Regions from separate parts of the Homo sapiens genome. Here region 1 is linked to region 2. Evidence: promoter capture Hi-C in human tissues and cell types (Jung and others, 2019). All regions are on one chromosome and are shown on one strand. Each heading gives the region's core, a stretch centred on a gene start or on the middle of the fragment in contact. The rest is flanking DNA. Distances are from core to core; before and after follow the strand shown. Region 1 overlaps LOC105374514 (a long non-coding RNA gene). Region 2 holds the start of SLIT2 (slit guidance ligand 2).

Region 1 (5,036 bases), core at 1,169-3,668, 42 kb after region 2:
TTTTAAAATATTTAATTGATTTTTAATTTTAAAATGTTTGGTTGACAAATAACAGTCAGTACTTTCTTAGACGGATAAACAAAAGGAAATCTATAACCCAATTTATCACGGCGAAACTATTAAACACCAAAGACAGATATAGAATTCTGACAGAAGAGCGGGAAGAACTAATATTGTTAAAATGTTGAGGAAAAGCAACTACTTACCAAAAGCTATATAGCCAAAAAAAAAATTTAAGAAAAATGACAGAAGAACAGAGATTTCAGACAAAACTGAATTTCAAAAGAAATGGATGCATTTTAGATAGAAGGAGAATGATTCTAAAAGGAAGGCATGATTTTTAAAAAGTTGGTAAACAAAGGAAATGGTAAACATGTTACAATGATATCTATGGTGAAGGCATTAGAACAACACAAGATGGGAAATTTTTGACTGTGCATGTGCACATTTGCGCGTGTGTGTGTGTGTGTGAGAGAGAGAGAGAGAGAGAGAGAGAGATTGGAGTTTAGATGTCCTCTAATTTCCCCAAGTTGTTTAGAAGGTGGGTATATACATTGATTTACTTTAGTCTTAAGTGAAGCATGCAATTAAAAAATGAGTAACCACTTAAAGAACAGAATGCAGTATATAATTCCAAACTACAAAAGGAGAAAAAATGGGGGGAAAAATAAAAAAATGTAAAAGAAGACAAGAGAGGAGCAAAAGGAGCACAGCAAACCTGGGACAAAGCAGAAAATAAGATGGTAAAAATACATTCATATATATCAGTGATCAGAAAAAGAAAGAAAAAAGATTACTCTTGCCAAAGGTGGAATAATTTTATTAAACTTTATTAAACTGTCAACAGAATGATTAGCTTTATTGATCTTCTTTGATATATCTTATACAATCTGCTGTTTACCGCATATACATCTTTAACCATACGAGTAAGAATAGCCATAAGAGAAATGATACAAACTAATATATTAGACTTATGTTAAATTAGATAAAACTGGTGTGCCTTAGCTAATGATAAAGGATCAAGGGCCATAAACATACAATAATTCTAAACATACATAGATTGAGTATCATAGCTTAAAAATTTACTGCAGCAAGATTTCTACATCTACAAGAAGAAACAGATAATATATCGACGTATTTGGATATTTGAGCATACTGCTTTTAGCATGGGATAGATCAAGTAAATAATCTCAAAAAAAAGTGATAGATAGGCTTGATCTAAAGCACATATATAGGATAAAATAGAGAACTTTGACTCAACACACTTATTCTTTCCCAACTCACATGAACATTTATAAATCTGACCCATGTCATAAAGCGTAGGCCATAGAGCAAGTCTTAAACATTTTCAGATAACTGGTATCATTTGGACCACATTCTCTGTCCATAATGTAATTGATTTAGGAATCACAAATATTAAACGCCTACATATTTTGAAATAAAAAACTCACTCCTAAGACAAAGGCATAAATAGGCATTTTACAGAAAGTAGGAATCATCAATAAACATATGAAAGATTCTTGACATCATTAGATGTATGAAAAGTAAATGAAGTTCTCAATGATACTTTTTAGTTCTAACAGATGGGCCTATTTTAAAAAGTCTGAAAATACCAGACTTTACTTTAGAGGGAAGTAAATGTGTTCATAGTCCCAGCAGGTGGGAGTGTACATTAGTACAAACACTTTAGAAAACAATTAGCATGATATAGTAAGGTTGAGGATATTCAAACCTTTCAAATCTGCAGTTGCATTCCTGGGTATACATCCTTCAGAATTTCTTACATCTGTCACTGGGAGACTTGAACAAGAAATTTTCCAACCACATCATTTGTAATATGAGAAAAGCTGGAAATTATCTATCTGTCCATCTAGATATACTTATTATGTATTGTAAAATACATAGTCATTTTTTATTCTATTGGGGTGGTTGACTTTTTATTGATTTGAAAGTTTTTTCTATAAATAATGTATTGAAGGTGGCCCTTGCCCAGTTTGTTCATCATTTCTTTCTTTGTTTATGTCTTTCATATAGAGGTTTTAAATATTTTATACATTGACATTTTATATTACAACATTTATCTAAACGTTTAAAGTGACTTTTGTCATTTGTACTATGTTCAGATCTTTCTCAGTCTCCAGGACTTTATTACTATTGATCTATATTTTCTTCCTATGTTTTTGCCCTGCCTCCCTCCCTGCCTGCCTGTCTCCCTCTCCCCTTTTCTTGTTTCCTTTTTTCTTTTCTTTTTTTTTAAACAAAGCTTTCTATAGAATGCATTTTGCATAAAGGGTAAAACAGATTCTATTCTCTTCTTTCTTTTTTCTAGAAAACAATACATTCCATTCTAATGTATGTTTTTCCCCTGGCACCAAACTATTTACAGCAGTTCTAAACATTTTTGATATTTAGCTATATAAGGTGTTTCGAATAACTGGAAGGAAAAGGTCCCTTAAATAATCCAGTTTTTGTCAAAATTTTTCTTCTTATTTTCATGTTATCTTTACAAATGACTTCTTGAAATGGTTTTGCAAATTAAAGATATATTCTTGAAACTTTTATTTGGGATGACTATTTGAATAGGGGAGCTATTGATATTTGTATTATATTGATCTTTGCTAGGAAATAATACACTATTCTTTTTTATTTATTTAAACTGTTTTTCATATGTTTTCAGTGAGATTTGTAGACATTTTTTCCAATGATATCTCATATTCTCATTAGATTTATCTACACTTTTTAAAATTTTGTCTGCTATTATAAATAGATAATTTTTCACCATATTTTCTAATATTAGTCTTTAAGAAATCTGTTTTTCTTATTTTTGAACTCCCAATTTATCATCACTTTGAACATTCTTACTATTTCTAATATGTTTGCTGTTGGTTTTCTAATAATTATATCATCAGCAAATTATTGAATTTATGTCCTATCTATTCTAATACTTAACTTAAAAAAAAGGCTAACAAAGTAGTGATTGAACCAGCTACTTCTTTGGTAGAAATGTTACGTTGGGGAGAAAAGGCATCCTGATATTTTTTCTTCCCACTCATGGTAACAATTACAATATTTCATCAAGTGTGTTATTGCCTCTAGGTTTAAGCTAGCCTATTATGTTTAAGAATTATTTTTCCCCTACTAGGAAATCATATTAGTTTGTTTGGGCTGCTATAGCAAAATACCTTAGACTAGGGAGTTTATAAACAATTGAAATTTATTGCTCACAATTCTGGAGATTGGGAAGTCCAAGATAAATGTGCAGGCAAAGTAGGTATATGGTGGGGGCCATCTCTGCTTTATAGACAGAGTCTCTTGTTGCATGCTCCCATGGTGAAAAGGAAAGATTGAACCCTTCAACATTTTTATAAGGGCCGTAATCTCATTCATGAAGGTGGAACTCTCATGGCTTAATACTTTTGAAAAAACTCTGTCTGTTCATACTGTCACACTGGGTATTAGGTCCCAACTAATGAATTTTAGGGGAGGGATACCAAAATTCAGACCATAGAAGAAATGATATTGAATGCTATCATCTATTAAAATGACCAAATCTTTTCTCCTTTGACTTGTTAATATGGTGATGTCTCTGTCTCTCTCTCTCTCTCTATCAATTAATCATCTATCATGCATCTATCTATTCATCCATCCATTTTCTGATATTAATCATCATTGTAATCCTGGCATAAAGCATGTTATTCATGGCATAGTATTCTTTTATATATTATTTTATATGCAATTTGCTAGGTTTTTGTTTAGAGATTTTTCATCTATCTTACCAAATAAACTTTTAAAATCATTTTCTTTTTTGTTCTACAGTTTTTCAGATTAGGTTTCATTGCTTCAATAGCTTTGTAAAAAGAATTGGTAAACTTCCTTTCCTTATTTGGGTTCTGAAACTGTTTACATATTAAACAAATAGAAATTTTAAGTTGTGAAGAAACTAGCTGTCCCAGGATATACAGTTAAAATATTTGTTTTATTTGTTTACAACTTGCTTAATTTTCTTGATGGTATAATAGATCTTTTGGTAGCCAACCAGTATCTTTTCCTTCCCTTATAGCCATCCCTTCACTACGTAGAGAATTCTGAGTTGATTATGATGTCCTCAGAGTTAAAACAATGTCCTCAGAGTTAAAAAAAAAAAAAAATTGCACTTCCCTTTTAGCCAGGGTAGCCATGTAAAATAGCTTTGATTGGTGATATGGAAGTGGATGGGTGGAGCTTCGTAGAAAACTATTATTTCCTTAATAAAAAATTAAACTCATTTGGCAGTTATTTGTAGTCCTGGGCCCTCTGCCTTTTCTGCCTAGTATATAGGCAGGGTACTCATGTTGCAGCAGCTCTACTATGAGCATGTGGATAAAAGCCATCTCCCTAAAGAGGAAAGAAACACATACCTGAGTTTCATTGCCCATCTCACGACTCCTTACAGTGTGAGAAATATAAACCCCTATTAGGTTAAGTCATGGCAGTCAGGTTTCTGATACATGCAACTGAATATAATTTCTAATCATAAGTAATTAATTTATGCAGGTTTTCTACCCTTTCTTGAGTCAATTTTAGTAGCATTTTCCAAGATGTCGTACATTTCAGATATATGAGAATATTTCAAATATAGATTTAGCTTAAATGTTTTATTATTTTATTTTACTAAAAATCTGTAGTTAACCTTGTGTTTTCATTCTCAAGTTTTTATTTTTGTGCTCTTATTTTTCTTTTTATGCTTCTCTCTTGCTGTGAACTCTTATTTTCAACGAAGGAGATTTTGAATTTATGTTATTAATTTTTTCATGCTGTTTTCTTTTCCCAGTCACTTTTTTCCCCCAATTTTCAGTTGAATACTTAGTTAACTGAATTTAATTTTTAGGAATAGAGTGTAAGAATTTAGCTTAATGTATTTTCCTGAGTTTGTGTTCACTGTCAATCCTTTCCCATTTTGTACCATTAACTTTATTTTCTAAAGATTTTAGTAAATGTAATTTTGATTACTTCTTTTATTATGTTTTGTTTTACAGTTTTCAACATTGTTGTGTTGT
Region 2 (5,602 bases), core at 296-2,795:
ATGCAGGGGCCGGTTGTTGTGGGGAGGGCGGTCCTCTGATCCCACGCACGCTTCTGCAAATCCGATGCCAGTGGCGAAGGTACAAGACAGAAGAGGGGATCTCAATAGGTATTATGGCCCCGATCAAAGTGGGCTCCGGAAGCTAGAAGGCGCGGAAGCCCAGCGGGCCCGTAGCAGAGCGCGCGGGGCAACTGGGCATGGCGCGCGGGGGTGCACGGGGCGGACGCGCAGTTCTGGGGGCGCACGGCTCTGGACTCTGCTCACTCACGCGGCCTCTCCCTCGCCCTCGACTCCGCCGCAGCCTGGACCGGTCCTCGCGGTCTCCCGACAGCCAACGATGGTTTACAAACACACATGCACTTCGCTGAAGGATGTCTGGGCAATCCCGCCTCCCGCTCGGCGTCCTTGGCGACGCTCTGCACCAGGACCTGCCCCGAGGTCACGCAGAAAAGACAAAAGGGCAGTCGGGCCGCCGCAGCCGGGCAGAAATATCCACTAGTCAGCACTCCGGCGAGGAACTCCAAGAGGCCAAGTGGAGGATGAGAGCTGCTGCGAAGACTGAGTGGGGACTGACTGGGGGCGGACTTAAAAACCAGGCAGACCGGAAGGAGTGGAAAGGCAAAGGCCAAGGTTGGAGGTGTCAGCGTCCTGCTGGGGCGTACTGGAGAATGGCTCGGTGGCAGGTGGGCGGGTGGGATCCACTACTCCAGGCAGAGCCAGGCGGCAGCTGAATGGCAGTAGTGTGTGCGCGCGTGTCAACCCCGCTCGTCTCCCAGATAAGCCGCAGCTCCGCGGCAGACACCTGATGGCAAAGGTAGAAGAAACAAGAGCCGGGTTCCGGAGGGCGCAGAGCCACGGCCGGCCCCCGGCGGTCTCCCACTAGTGGTTCGTCCTTCTCAAAGTGCAGCAACTTTTCCCAGGCTTTGAATTCCGTCCCCCAAGGCCACAGTGGCGGTACCCCTGCCGGCGTGGCGACGCCGCCCGGCTCCTGGCGCTGCACCTGACGCGGCGGCCGCAGTCCCGGGTAGTCCTTCTCCTTCTAGCCCCTTCCCCTCTCCCGCTGCTTTCCTGGCCTCCCGCTCCAGGGAGCGAGGTCGGGGAGAGGGAGGGCGACGACTCAGAGCGGGGACTCGGTGGCTCTGCCGACTCCGGAGCCCCTGGCAAGTGTCTAAACAATAGGACGGACGCAGCAGCCCAAGTCTCGCTTGTCTGGAAGGAAGGTGGGTTGTTGTCGTAACTGGAGTTGTTCGCTGGGGCTGACTGGCGCTCAGCGTAGCCAAACAAAAACCCGGCCCGCGCCTCCGGAGCCGGCTGCGGGCCCCCGGCGCTCCCCTTTCTGCTCAGCACTCCCGCCGTGCCCAGAAAGCGCGGCAGCTTCGGCCTGCGCCTGGGCGCTTCGGCGCTCCCATGCCTCGCAGCTGCCTCCGCCTCCGCCGCCGCCGCCGCCGCCGCCTTCTTTTTTTTAACCACAGTCTGCGGCAGCCACCACCACCGCCGCCGCCAAGCTCCGCCGTCCGGGCGCTTCCCAAATAAATAACACCAAGTCCGAAGTTGAGCCGGCGCGGGCCTTATATAGCCGCCCGAGCCTCCGCCCCCTGACCCCGCCCCTCGAGGCCCAGGCCCGCCCCCTGGCTCCGCTCTGGGAGCCCGCACCTCGCTGGGGAGAGGGGAGAGGTGAGGCCGGGGCTGCCAGCGCTGGGCGGAGGCGGCGGCTGGCGGCGCGCGTTCCCGTGCGCCCTGGCTCGCCCCCTCGCTCCCACGCGCGGGCAAACTTGGCCCGAAGAAGGAGCCACCCGAGCCCCAGCCCCCAACTCCTTGGCCCCAGAGGTGACCTGGGCTCGGAGATAGTCGTTTGCAGTGGGAGAATGGGAAGAGGTCGGCTTTGAACGCGGCTCATAAATAAACAGCCCTGCCAGTGCCTCTCCTGCAGCTTTTGCCACGCGATCCTTAAGGGGGCTGCTCACTCTTTGCAGCGCAGCAAGAGACAGAGAGACAGAAACAGAGAAATTATGATTTAAATTTAAGAAAAATCCTACCGAAATAGATCTGCCTGCGCTTACAGACACACACGTGTATTTTGGGGAGCTGAAAAGTTCAGTTTTTGCAAGTTGGAAAACAGCATTTTCCAACCTTCTTGCTTGCCTTTCTATCTCCAAGCCACCCCCTTCCGTTTAACCCTTCCTTTGTAGACACACACTGAACCACACCGTGGTCAGTTGATGTCTTGGATATTCAATAGGCTCACAAAACTCTTAAGGGCTTGAACGTATCTGTGTGATTTTTTACTCTCTTATGAGAGAAAGGAGGGGAAAAAATAAATCCCTAGCAACGCACATTATACCAGAAGGTTTTCTTTATTTCAGGGCAGTTCTGGATATTTTTTTCCCCGCTATGTTTTGAAAGAGAATTTCCTTGTTTCATCTTGTCTCTTTAGTGTGACGTATGTCTGGCAACGGCTGCCTCTCTCGCCCCCCTTTCCCCCCCAGCAAGAGCCAATGTCACTGTAAGTTTGAAATGACATCTAAATGACTCTGCTCCTTCTCTTGGATTTAATATGCATCATATTGTTGTTCTTCCTCCCATTTCCACGTTAAGAAGCTTTCCCTGGAATTTGTGCAAGCCCCCGCCTAATACCAGCCTCATATTGTAGTAGTTATTTGTATAATTATTAGAAGCTTCCTTGAAAGCAAGACCTGTCCAACTCTTTGTATTTCCAGCATCTATGCCTGCCACATAATAGGTTTCCTCATAAGTAACCGATTTCTTTAACTCAAGAGTATGCTCAACCTAAAATCTCTGCAATATCCTCATTAACGTTTTTCCTGGTTAACATTTTCTAAGATGTCCTTTCATAATGGCTACCCCTACTTACCTCATTTTGCCTGCCTTGGAAAACGTAAGCCTTTTCGAGGACACGCCCAAAGGCAGGGTACCATCTGATAACTGAATTGGAACTCTTAGGATTACTCATTTTAATGCCACAGATTTATATTGCTCTATTCTTTTAAAACCTTCAAAAACATTTGACATTTATTAACTCATTTGTCCTTCTAGATTTTAGCTTAAAGGTCTGTTATGTAACTTCCTTGAGGAGGAGAAAAAAGAAGCCCTTGTCACATTTTCTTGTAAGGAAAATGAGATAAAGAACAAGTACCTGTCATTGAGGAAGGAGCTCCCCCAACCCTCAGTGAATTTTCCTTAGTGTGTACCAGTAAATTATGTGGTTAAATATGGTTGCTGATACATTAATTTATTTAATTTCACAACTTTAATATCTTGTCAGCAACAAGAGGTGTTTGTGTTCAACTTTGTGCACCACATAGAATTGTTGTTCCATATTTTAATTCCAAGAACATATCCTGCATTCCAAATATTTATAAATAATATTATTGATATTGTTGCATAAGTGAAATTCACAGACATAAGTTCAAGTTTCATTCTATCTCTGATCACTTTCTGTTTTGTGTAAAACCAAGGAGAAACTAACATACATAGCAACATGCCTACAGAAACATCTTTTTAAAATTTGAAGCCAATTTAAATAAGAAGCTATGTTCAGTGGATTTCATTCAGAAAAAAGAAAGACTGTAATTAATTCTTGAGAGGCATATCTTACTATTTTTTGCGTTATTAACTTTTTAGTTGATAAGGGGAATTTTATACATACATAAACAACCAGGTCTCCTGTCCTTTAACATATTACTGTATTATTCCATTAGTATTACTGCAGGATGTTTGTTGAAGGCCTTGCAGGCTTCAGAAACATTAACTTCTAGGTCTTAATTCTTTATGGATTATTTTGCTCCCATATGAATTTCTGAGTTTCTCTTTCACTGTTAAACCCAGCCTGAAGAAAGCCTTCTGTGGTGCCTCTTGTCACCACATGAGGTCTCCATAAATCCTGACCTGGATTAAGCAGAAGTGGAATCCACTATAGCCAATATCCGAGTCTCCTATTATCTTGCAAAAAAAAAAAAAAAATCCAGTTCGTACAATAATTTGGAAACAATGTAGACAATCACCTATGCAGCAAAGAAATAAAAAGCATCAGAATAATGTGTAGGTTATTAAATGTCTAATAAACTTTGCATTTTTTTGAAATAAAAAGGTTGTGAAGTTGGGTTATATGGGAAAAGGGAGGAAGAAAAGAGAATTTACGAAAAAGAGATAAAGAAGAGTAAAAATTATTGTTCTCTGTCTTTTTAAACAGAGGTAGGTAACAGTAATTGCATTGATCAAATTCATGAAACTTAATTCCTTGAATTTAACTGCCTTCATGTTACTATTTTCCATTGTTGCAATGTGTTCATTTTAATTATTTGATATTTCTTTCATTTAAATTATCTGATATTTCTCACAATATCTTTGTATTGGAAACGTAGACATGGAACCCTAATATAATGGAAATTAAGATTTAACCAAAATTTGTTTCAAGCCTACTAAATTCCAAGCTATTTGACAGAGTTACATCCACAGTGATGGTTGCTATTTCACTCCTTACAGTAGAGGATGTTGGTCTTCATGCAAGTCGCAGCTTATTAAATGGCAGAGCTAGAACCAGAACCTAAGTTCTCTGACCTCAATTCTCAATTGATTCTTCTTCACCCAACTGTTTATCTGTAGATCCACTGGAACTCGTGGGGATCAAGGAATCTATAGATCCTCAGGAATGATCACCCTCATACAGGAGATGGTCATGTCTCTGCACACACTCCTTAAGGGCATCTACAGGGAGCAGTAAAGAGCTAGAGTCCTCAGCACCAGCACTTCAAGGATACTGAAACCTGACCTGCTTCTGGACATAGCTTTGACTTTGAGATGATTCTCTAGGTGAGTGGTTCTCAGCATGTGGTCCCTGGACCAACAGCATCGTAATCGCCAGGACTGTAGTTGGAGATACAACTTCTCAGGCCCTAACTCAAACCCACAAAATCAGAAAATCTGGGAACAGAAGCCAGAAGGCTGTGTTCTCACAAGCCCTCCAAGAGATTTTGATGTTCACTAAAATTTGAGATCCATTACTCAAGAGCTGCTCTGTGTTTGTATCTGTGACACATTGGTACGGAGAATGAAGCAGCAAAGAATAATAGATAACAGCTGCTGAATTGTCTTCAGCTTCTCATTCCTGGGGGTTGACAATTGCACATTACTGATTACCTCTAGGGGGCACCAAAATATTTTGATGTACAGCTCCGCAGAGGCAATAAGACTTTAGTTTTATTTTCCAAGGAAATGGCCTTCAGAAGTGGAAAGGGCTTCCTAGTTATTACATCAGCAACCTGCCCGAATATGCCTCAACCCTTTAAAAAAATCTGTTATATTTATAGGGATTTTTTCCAGTTTAATACCACTTTTGTATGGATGCATTGATTCCTATTTCTCATGATTATTGTGAAAATTAAGATATTATTTTTCAATCTAACAGCACAGGGCCTGGCATAGAGCTAGGTGCTTATTAAATAAAGGGTATTTCATTATTACTTTTAATATCTGAAATTTTCTAAAATATTATATTTGTATTATGAGAATAGATAACATATTCCTTTAGTTATTACTATGATCCAATAACTTCTTGTATTGAGTCCTGGGAAGGGCTGGGCTG

The links. Contacts are between HindIII fragments. The study calls those that stand out against the background at their distance.
Region 1: a contact is called between a fragment that was not itself captured here and the fragment with the promoter of SLIT2 in region 2, in 1 of the 25 tissues and cell types used here (stomach).

The regions. Positions count from the first base shown.
Region 1 is chr4:20,207,241-20,212,276 of GRCh38, reverse strand. LOC105374514 (a long non-coding RNA gene) reads left to right here. Exons shown (of 3, transcript XR_925450.2): 2 at 5,016-5,036. Among named protein-coding and RNA genes, the nearest start is that of SLIT2, 42 kb to the left of the region's middle. The HindIII fragment of the contact is 4,639 bases long and covers 99-4,737 here.
Region 2 is chr4:20,247,848-20,253,449 of GRCh38, reverse strand. It overlaps SLIT2 (slit guidance ligand 2), which reads right to left and starts at 1,545. Exons shown (of 37, transcript NM_004787.4): 1 at 1-1,545. RefSeq lists an enhancer at 1-429. The HindIII fragment of the contact is 10,378 bases long and covers 1-5,591 here.